Regions from separate parts of the Homo sapiens genome. Here region 2 is linked to region 1. Evidence: promoter capture Hi-C in 16 types of primary human blood cells and fetal thymus (Javierre and others, 2016). All regions are on one chromosome and are shown on one strand. The core of a region is centred on a gene start or on the middle of the fragment in contact, and the rest is flanking DNA. Distances in the headings are between cores, read along the strand shown.

Evidence for each region. Contacts are between HindIII fragments. The CHiCAGO score rates a contact against its expected background, and 5 or more counts as called.
Region 2: a contact is called between a fragment that was not itself captured here and the fragment with the promoter of TAS2R3 in region 1, in 1 of 17 cell types (neutrophils). The highest score is 5.2, in neutrophils.

Annotation. Positions count from the first base shown.
Region 1 is chr7:141,761,502-141,765,890 of GRCh38, reverse strand. TAS2R3 (taste 2 receptor member 3) reads right to left here and starts at 1,794. Exons shown (of 1, transcript NM_016943.2): 1 at 694-1,794. The coding sequence starts at 1,732. The coding sequence ends at 782. The HindIII fragment of the contact is 2,000 bases long and covers 389-2,388 here.
Region 2 is chr7:142,361,414-142,365,802 of GRCh38, reverse strand. It overlaps TRB. Among named protein-coding and RNA genes, the nearest start is that of PRSS58, 110 kb to the right of the region's middle. RefSeq lists an enhancer at 1-378. The HindIII fragment of the contact is 3,097 bases long and covers 1,018-4,114 here.

The sequences.
Region 1 (4,389 bases), core at 545-3,044:
CTTGGTCAAAAATAAAAACAAAACTACTTGGTCTTTTGCCCAATCTACAAAATAATTACTTGAAAATGTACTTTAGCAAAATGATCATGAAATGCAAGATTGAATTGGAATCTAGAATCTAAAGGTCTTGATTTTCTTTCCACTGTTTTCATCATTACACAATGTGTTTGTGGGAACTGGAATCATATGGAAATTGCTGTTGCTGCACAATCCAATATTAGCGCAATAATAGCCTTCACTTACTGAGTACTGTACACAACACACTGTGCTAAAATGGCCAGTAGGGATCAGAAGAGGGAATCAGACAGGTAATTAAAGTAACTCACCAGAGGCCAAAAATCTTGGCCAGAATCAGAATTCAAACCCACATCTATAGGACTGCAAAGCTTTTGCTCTTTCCTTCAAGTCTACTATGTAATTTTATGTTTATCACTGTTAGTATCTAATTTAAGTTGAAACTAGTAATCAGACTCATTATGTCGAGCTGATGATTATTAAAATACAGCACCATATGTTTATAGTGAGAGTGTTCTTACGACATGGTCATTTCCAAGACTACTACTCCTGCACCCTCCCCACCTCCGCAACCACCATACAGAGAGAGGCTGTGAGAAGCGTGGCTTTCACCTTGGAACAAGTGCCCAGGGACCAGGGGCAAAGCAGTCAGTGTTTCTCTCCTACTGATGTTATGGAACTGGTAACATAGGAAGGTCAGGAAGAGTCCTGTAGTCTTGAGCCAGGCCAAAAGGCTCAAGGGCTCCACCCCATGCCCTCTGTTACTCTAAGAGAAAATGGGTCCCTTGGATCCAGGCTTCAGATGACCAGACTCACACCGGAGCATCACTACAAATGTCTGCTTCAGCTTACTGTTCCCCAGAATGAGAATAAATGAGTGGCCAGCAGGATAAAACATTGTCATTACTTCGCCAATCATCTTAGCCATCTTGGTTTTTGGTAGGAAATTACCAAATGATGCAATTAAGAAAGCAAGAAAGTAAAGTAAGAAGAGAAAGAAGAAGGAAAGGATGATTCTGATGGCCCTCTTGTGGGCCTCAGTGGTTGGATCTCTGGAGCTTGTCCCATTTTGCAGCATCTGCCGTGTGTGCCTCCCCAGGGAGAAGATGAGCAAAGAGTAGGAGGCCAGGGACACAATTAAGGGAGGCAGGTACCACAGAGTCCCAAGAACATGGATCAGATAATACTCACTCCTCTTCTTTCTGAAGTGTTCAGTCACATTCCTGGTGGCCTCAATTCCCCTAAAGACAGAATAGAGCTTAAACTCATTGATCAGAGATGCGGTACTACCACAGGATAAGAGCAGTGCACCCAACAGCATCCATACCATCACCCTAGAAACTCTCCACTTGAGCCAGAGGAATGTGGGGTGAGAGAAACTGGCGATTTTCAGGCAGTAGAGGACACCAAGACAGGTGGCAAGCCAAATGCTCAGATGGTTTGTAAATGTCCAGGAAACATCAATAATTTGCATTATTATCCCTGAATCATGTGTGTTGGGAGAGAATTCTATTAAAAAACTATCAGTCAAGATAATACACAGCAGAATGATCCTCAAGAGTGCCAGGGTGGTGATGATGAAGTCAGACAAAGACATTCTCTTGGTCTTGAACCAGCTGCTACCATTGACCAACTCAATGAAACAATTGACCAGAATTCCCAGTGTGAACTGAGTGCCAGACAGAATCAGGAACACCCCCTCGGTGAGTCCCATCATGTCAGCAATTAGGCAGCCCTGATCTTTGTTCTTTCTGTTGATACATAGAATCTCCTCACTGATGTGATATTTTTCTCGTTAATCTACTCCTCTACCTGTTGCTTCACTGTACCTGTCTCTTGTCTCTGCCCAATTTAGTCTGTCGTAGAGCACAATTTAGGAAATCCTCTCTGGCTCTTTCAGGTTAGTCTGTCCTCTTCACAGATGATATGGATTGTCATATTCCATCAATGAACCTAAACTTTGCAGCTCTTTGCTAAAATGCAAATGAGTAGTGTCCAGTGTCACATAGAGAAGGAAGAGATCTAGGTCACAAAGATGATGGAGGACTTGGACTCAGTTTCAAAGGGTGTAGGGCTCTGAGTTACCCAAAACAGAAAGATGAGCGGCACCAAATGGAGGCGGCTCAGAATTACTCAGAAGAGTAAAAAGTCTCATTCCTCAGGAGGGAGGACTCAGAGATACAGAAAAGGAATTCCACTAGGAGCCACTATCCACCTGGAGTGAGGTTTAAGTGCATAAAATTGTAAAAGTTCAGTGCCATTGATCATGGATTAGAATTAAAAGGCATGCCCCTTGGAGCCTGGCTTACATGCAGAGAGATGGCTGTAAGCTATAAGCTAGCAAGAGAAGCCTCACCAGAAAGTGGCCAAGCTTACATCCCGAACTTGGACTTGCAGTGGGAAGTCTCAGACCCACTCTGGATTGCTAGTCTGCTATAATACTGTCCAGGGAGGCATAAGAACAATACTTCTGTTCTTAACCTAAGAGCTCCTCTATTTAACAAGCGGCTATTAATTAAGGATCTTCATTCAGGACTATATGCAGAATTAAGCAGTACGTAGTTTGTATTAAAGTATGCTTATGTTGACTCTTTTTAAAGCTAATTGCTAAGGTTTGTATACTTTTTATGTCCTACTCCCTTCCCTAAATTTAATGAGACATTAGTTTAAAACCTAAAGGATTGTGGGAATAAAGAAAAGATTTTACTTCTACTTGCCGTGAAAGGTCATGTAAGAGAAAGATAAGAGTAAAGAGTTGCTCATGTATACGGAGATAAAGTCAACAATATATGAATAAGAAAGAATTAGGTTTAAGTACACAACACAAGTAAATGGCTTAGAGGAGAGGTATATTTTTGTCTCCCAAAGCAGTCCAGAGGCAAACTGTCCAGGCTGGTATGGTGGTTGCATAGTGATTGCAGATCCCAGCTTCTTCTACCTTCCATTCTGAAGACTGCCTCATGGTCCAAGATGGCAACTGGAAATCCAGCCATGAAATGTCCACATTTCAGACAAAAAAGAAAATGCTGTAGGACGAGAGTCTGGGGAAGCACACAGGATACGCCTCCCAAGAGTAACTCATATAGAAAGTTCCCTGAGAGCATCACCAAGTGACTTCTGCCTATAGCCCCTTGGCAACCCCTAACTGAAAAGAACAGGAATGCAGTACATGTGCTGTGCACCCTGTCACATCTGGGTTCTATAAATACAGAAGGGACAATAGATACTGGGTAGTGCATTAATCATGTTTATTTTCTGTATTTTATGCTTTGACACTTTTGGGCCTTGCAGACCCAGAGAGGGCATGCCCTCCCAAGGTTAGCTAATTCCTGGAGTTAGCCAACTTGCCTGAGAAAACTCCTTTGATAAGCAAACCAGCCAATCCTGAATCCACACTGCCCCTCCCATCTACCTCCTTTGCTTAGGTAGAAAACGAGCCCAGGACACTATGACCTTGCCTTCAATCACCCCAGGGCCAGGCACCTGATAACTAGGGACCATCTTGAGAACCTGCAGCCTGCTGAAATTATTCAAACTACCCAATCCTAACCTTGCTTAGCTTTCCACTGGTGCCTTACTCATTGCTTCCCTATGAAAAACACAACAAAGCCTCTGGCTTATGTTTTCCCCCCTCCTTCTTCCTCCTGACCAACTCCAGTGCATCCCTGAGTGGCCTTGCATGGCATAGCATGCAACCTCCTATTGGGAACTGTGAAATAAAAGACTCTTCTTTCAAAGCAGTTGTCTGTGTGACATGATTAAAGCAGCTGTCTCCGTGACATGATTAAAGCAGTTGTCTCCTACCATACATGATTAAGGCAAGTCCCAGGTACATCTTAAAACAGGTAGGCAACTGGAAATCTTTTCCACAATACGGTTTTCTATAACAGAAAGCTAGAATCTACAATAGAAAGCTAGAATGCTTTAAAGTTATCTCACAGCCAGGCATGGTAGCTCATGCTTATCATCCCAGCGACCCAGGAGGCCAAGGTGAGAGCATCACTTGCAACCATGAGTTTGAGGCTGCAGTGAGCTATGATCGCACCACTGCACTCCAGCCTGGGCGACACAGCGAGACTCCAACATACATACATATGTTATAAATAAAGGATAAATAAAATTTAAAAATAAAAAACAAAAAAGTTATCTCATAAACCATTTATAATGTGTTTAGCAGAAGAAAAAGAATAATCACTCCTGCCTCAACTTCTCCTCGGAGCTCCAGACTAATATAATTAATACCCTGCCAAGGAGCCATTAGAAAGTCTACAGATAAACCATATTCAAAACTAAGCTCATTATCTTTCCCCCTCTCAACTCTGCTCCCACATCCATGTTCCATAAACTCAGAAATGAAGTGCTACTATCCACACA
Region 2 (4,389 bases), core at 1,317-3,816, 600 kb before region 1:
TACTTGCCATAGAGCTTAGGTGAGAATCTGAGACATGCTGGTTTCAGGTGTGATGCAGCACATTCCCAGCTGTGATGAATATGAGGAGAGGCTCCTTCTGCTTGATAAAAGGAGAGGGAATAATAAAGGAGCCTTTGTCTTGCAGATTAGCTACCACCTTGGCCACAGTGGAGTAGAGCACAAAGTAGGCTCCTGGGGTCCCGGATTCCAGGACTTTGCTGTTGGATTGCATTTCTGGACCAGTCCTGGGCCAGAGGAGAGCCCATTGCCCTGAAAGAAGAGTCTCAGGCCTGGCAGCATTTACCACAAGCTGGCTAAAGAGTCCTTGGGCCTTGAGTGAACATTGGCAATAGTCAGGCAATTCTTGCTGTGGGCCTGGGGCGGTGGTAGCCATAGGGAGAGACTCCTCTGGTTGTGAAAGGGCAGGGAAGAGTGGAAATAACTTTATCTTGTGACTTGAATGCCAGCTCAGTTGCAGCAGAATAGAGCACCAGTTAGATCCCCAAGGTTTCTGACTCCAGGCCCTGGCTCCTGGATAACATCTCTGGATGTGCCTGGGGTCAGGGGGCCTCGTGACCCTGAAGGGAAGGGTATAAGACTGGCTGACTTTTCCACATGCTGATTGTAGATCCCTGGGGCCTTGAACATAGGCAACAAGCAAGGCAGTGGTTACTGTGGACCTTGGGTGAGACCCATTATCATGCTGGCTTTTTCTGACCTAGGATCTCAGTGATGGCAGCCACAGGGAGCTTGTACCACTACTCCTCAGTTCCAGGTAGTTCAGCAGAGAGAGAGACAGAGATGTTTGTTTGAGTGAAAGTGAAGGAAGAGAACAAGAGTCTCTGCCTGATAATCCAGAGAATTCTTTCAGATCTTATCCAAGACCACCAAGGCAGTATATCTGTGAGTCCACAAGGACCACAGAATTACTGGACTTGGGGTGCTCCCTAATGCAGATAAGGTTTCAGAGATAGAAAACTTAGATTACAACACCCAAGTACATTCAAATACCTGAAAAGCTTTCCAAGGGCGAGTACAAACAAGCCCAGACTGCAAAGACTACAATAAATACTTAACTCTTCAATGCCCAGACACAGGCAAACATCCACAAGTCTCAAGACCATTCAGGAAAACATGACCTCACCAAATGAACCAAATAAAGCACCAGAGGCCAATCCCAGAGAGAGAGAGAGAGATGTGTGACATTTCAGACACAGAACTCAAAATATCTGTTTTGAAGAAACTCAACAAAATTCAAGACAACACAGCCAAGAAATTCAGAATCCGGAAGAGAGCTAAATAATTAAAAACAATCAAGCAGAAATTTTGGAGCTGAAAATGCAATTGACATTCTGACGAATGCATCAGGGTTTCAACCTCACAATTGATGAGGCAGAAGAATCAGTAAGCTTGAAGACAGGCTATTTGAAAATACACCACCAGAGGAGACAAAAGGATAAAAATTAATGAAGCACAAATACAAGATCTAGAATATAGCCTCAAAAGGGCAACTTTAAGAGTTATTGACCTTAAAGAGGAGGTAGAGAGAGAGATAGGGCTGAAAGTTTATTCAAAGCTATGATAATAGAGAAATTCCCAAACTTAGAGAAAGATATCAATATTCAAGTAAAAGAAGATTATAGAATACCAAGCATATTTAAGTCAAAGAAGACTACATCAAGACAATAATCAAACTTCAAGGATAAATCAAAATTTCAAGGATAAAGAAAGGATTCTAAAAGCAGCAAAAGAAACAGATAACATACCATGGACCACCAATATAGTCTAGCAGCAGACTTTTTCAGTGCAAATCTTACAGGTCATGAGAGAGCAGCATGACATATTTAAAATGCTAAAAAAAAAAACGTTAATACTAGAATAGTGTACTCAGTGAAAATACCCTTCAAACATGAAAGGGAAATAATGACTTCCCCAGACAAACAAAATATGAGGGACTTCCTCAACACCAGACCTGTCCTAGAAGAAATGCAAAAGATAATTTTTCAGCATGAAAGAAAAGAACATTAATGAGAAATAAGAAATTATCTGCAGGTGCAAAACTAACTGATAATAGTGCGAAGAAAAACACAATATTATAATACTGTGATTACGGCGTGTAAACTACTTATAAAGACTAAAAGATGAACCAATTAAAAAAAAAACTACAGCTTTTCAAGACATAGACAGTGCCTAAGATATAAATAGAAATGACACAAAGTTGAAAGGTAGGTGGACAATGTTAAAATATAAGATTTTTACTAGTTTTCTCTGTTTTTTTTTGGTTTGTTTGCTTAGGCAATCAGTGTTATGTTGTCATCAGTATAAGATATTATTTGCAAGCCTCATGCATAGTAATTTTAAATACAAACATATGCAACGTAGTAACTTTAAATACAAACACATACAACAGATACACAAAAATAACAAACAAGAAATGAAAACACGTTATCAGGGAAAATCACCTTTACTAAAAAGAAGACAGGAAAGAAGAAACAAATGAAGAGAAGACCACAAAACAACCAGAAAACAAATACATGGCAGGAGCCAGTACTTAGTTATCAACAATAACATTGAATGTAAATGATGTAAACTCACCAATCAAAGGACATAGAGTAGCTGAATGAATATAAAAATAAGACCCAATGATCTGTCACTTACAAGAAACACACCTCCCCTAAAAAGACATATAGATTGAAAGTGAAGAGATAACAAAAAGATGTTTCATGCACGTGAAAACCAGAAAAGATCAGGAGTAGCTATATCTATATCAGATAAAATATATTTCAAGACAATAACTATAAAAAGAGGCAAAGAAGTTTACTATATAATAATAAAAAAGCTAGCACAAACATATGTATGGAAACTGCCACATTGCCATTATTGGCACATGCTTCTGAGCATGTACCCCAATGCCACCATTTGGAAAAAGTACTTTGGCTGGCATTCCCCATTGCAGTGTTGTTGCCAGTGGAATTGGGAACGCCTCAGCCCCTCTGGTGTAGCAGGTGCTTTAACCTTAAGGGGTCAAAAACCAAAGCTCTGGGCTTAATTCCAGCACCACAGGCCTACAACACGCAGCCCAGAAATACTGAGCTGAATCTTAGCCCCCTGAAATATTCCATAAATGAAGCCAGTCTCCTGAACCCAGCTTATGTAACAGTGAAACCCTCAAGGGCATAGAATATAAAAGCAAAAAACCCTTCCAAAAGACATCAGCTTAAAAGATTAAAGAAACCTCAGACCACAGAGATGAGAAAGAACCAGTGAAAGAACTCTGGCAACTTAAAAAGTCAGAGTGCCTTCTTAGCACCAAATGAACACACTAGCTTCCCAACAATGATTCTTAACCAGGCTGAAGCGGCTGAAATGATAGACATAGAATTCAGAAACAGGTTAGAAACAAACACTATCAAGATTCGGAAGAAAGCTGAAAGTCAATCTAAGGAATCTGATGAATCCAATAAAATGACACATTAGCTGAAAAATGAAATAGCTATTTTATGAAAGAACAAAATTGATCTGATAGAGCTGAAAAACTAACCTCAACAATGTCATAATGTAATCAGAAGTATTAACAGCATAATCAATGAGAAAATAATCTCAGAGCTTGAACACTTATTTTTGAATCAATTCAGTCAGACAAAAAAAGAATGGAAAAAAAAGAAAAATGAATGAAGTAAACCTCTGAGAAATATGGGATTATGTAAAAAGACCAAACCTATGACTCATTGATGTCCCTGAAAGAGGGGGAGAGAGAGTAAGCAACATTGAAAACATATTGGAGGATATTGAGCACAAAAAATTCCCTAACCTTGCTAGAGAGTTTAATATTCAAATTCAGGAAACACGGAGAATTCTTATGAGATACCATAAAAGACAACCACCCCCAAGACACATAGTCATCAGATTCTCCAAGGTCAACATGAAAGAAAAAATATTAAAGTCAGCTAGAAAGAAAAGGCAGGTCACCTACAAAGGGAATCCCATCAGACTAACAGCAGGTTTTTCAGGAGAAACTTTACAAGGCAGAAACAATTGGGAGCCAATATTCAACATTCTTAAAGACATGAAATTCCAACCAGTATCCCTATATATTTCATATCCAGCCAAACTAAGCTTCATAAGGAAAGGAGAAATAAGATCCCTTCAGACAAGCAAATGTTCAAGGAATTTGTTACTACCAGACCTGCCTTACAAGAGGTCCTGAAGGGAGTCCTAAACATAGAAATGAAAGATCACTAACAGCCACCAAAAAACACACTCAAGTACATAGACCATTGACATTATAAAGCAACTACACAATCAAGTCTGCATAACAACCAAGCAAGAACACAATGGCAGGATCATATCTACACGTATTAATATTAACCTTGAATGTAAACAGGCTAA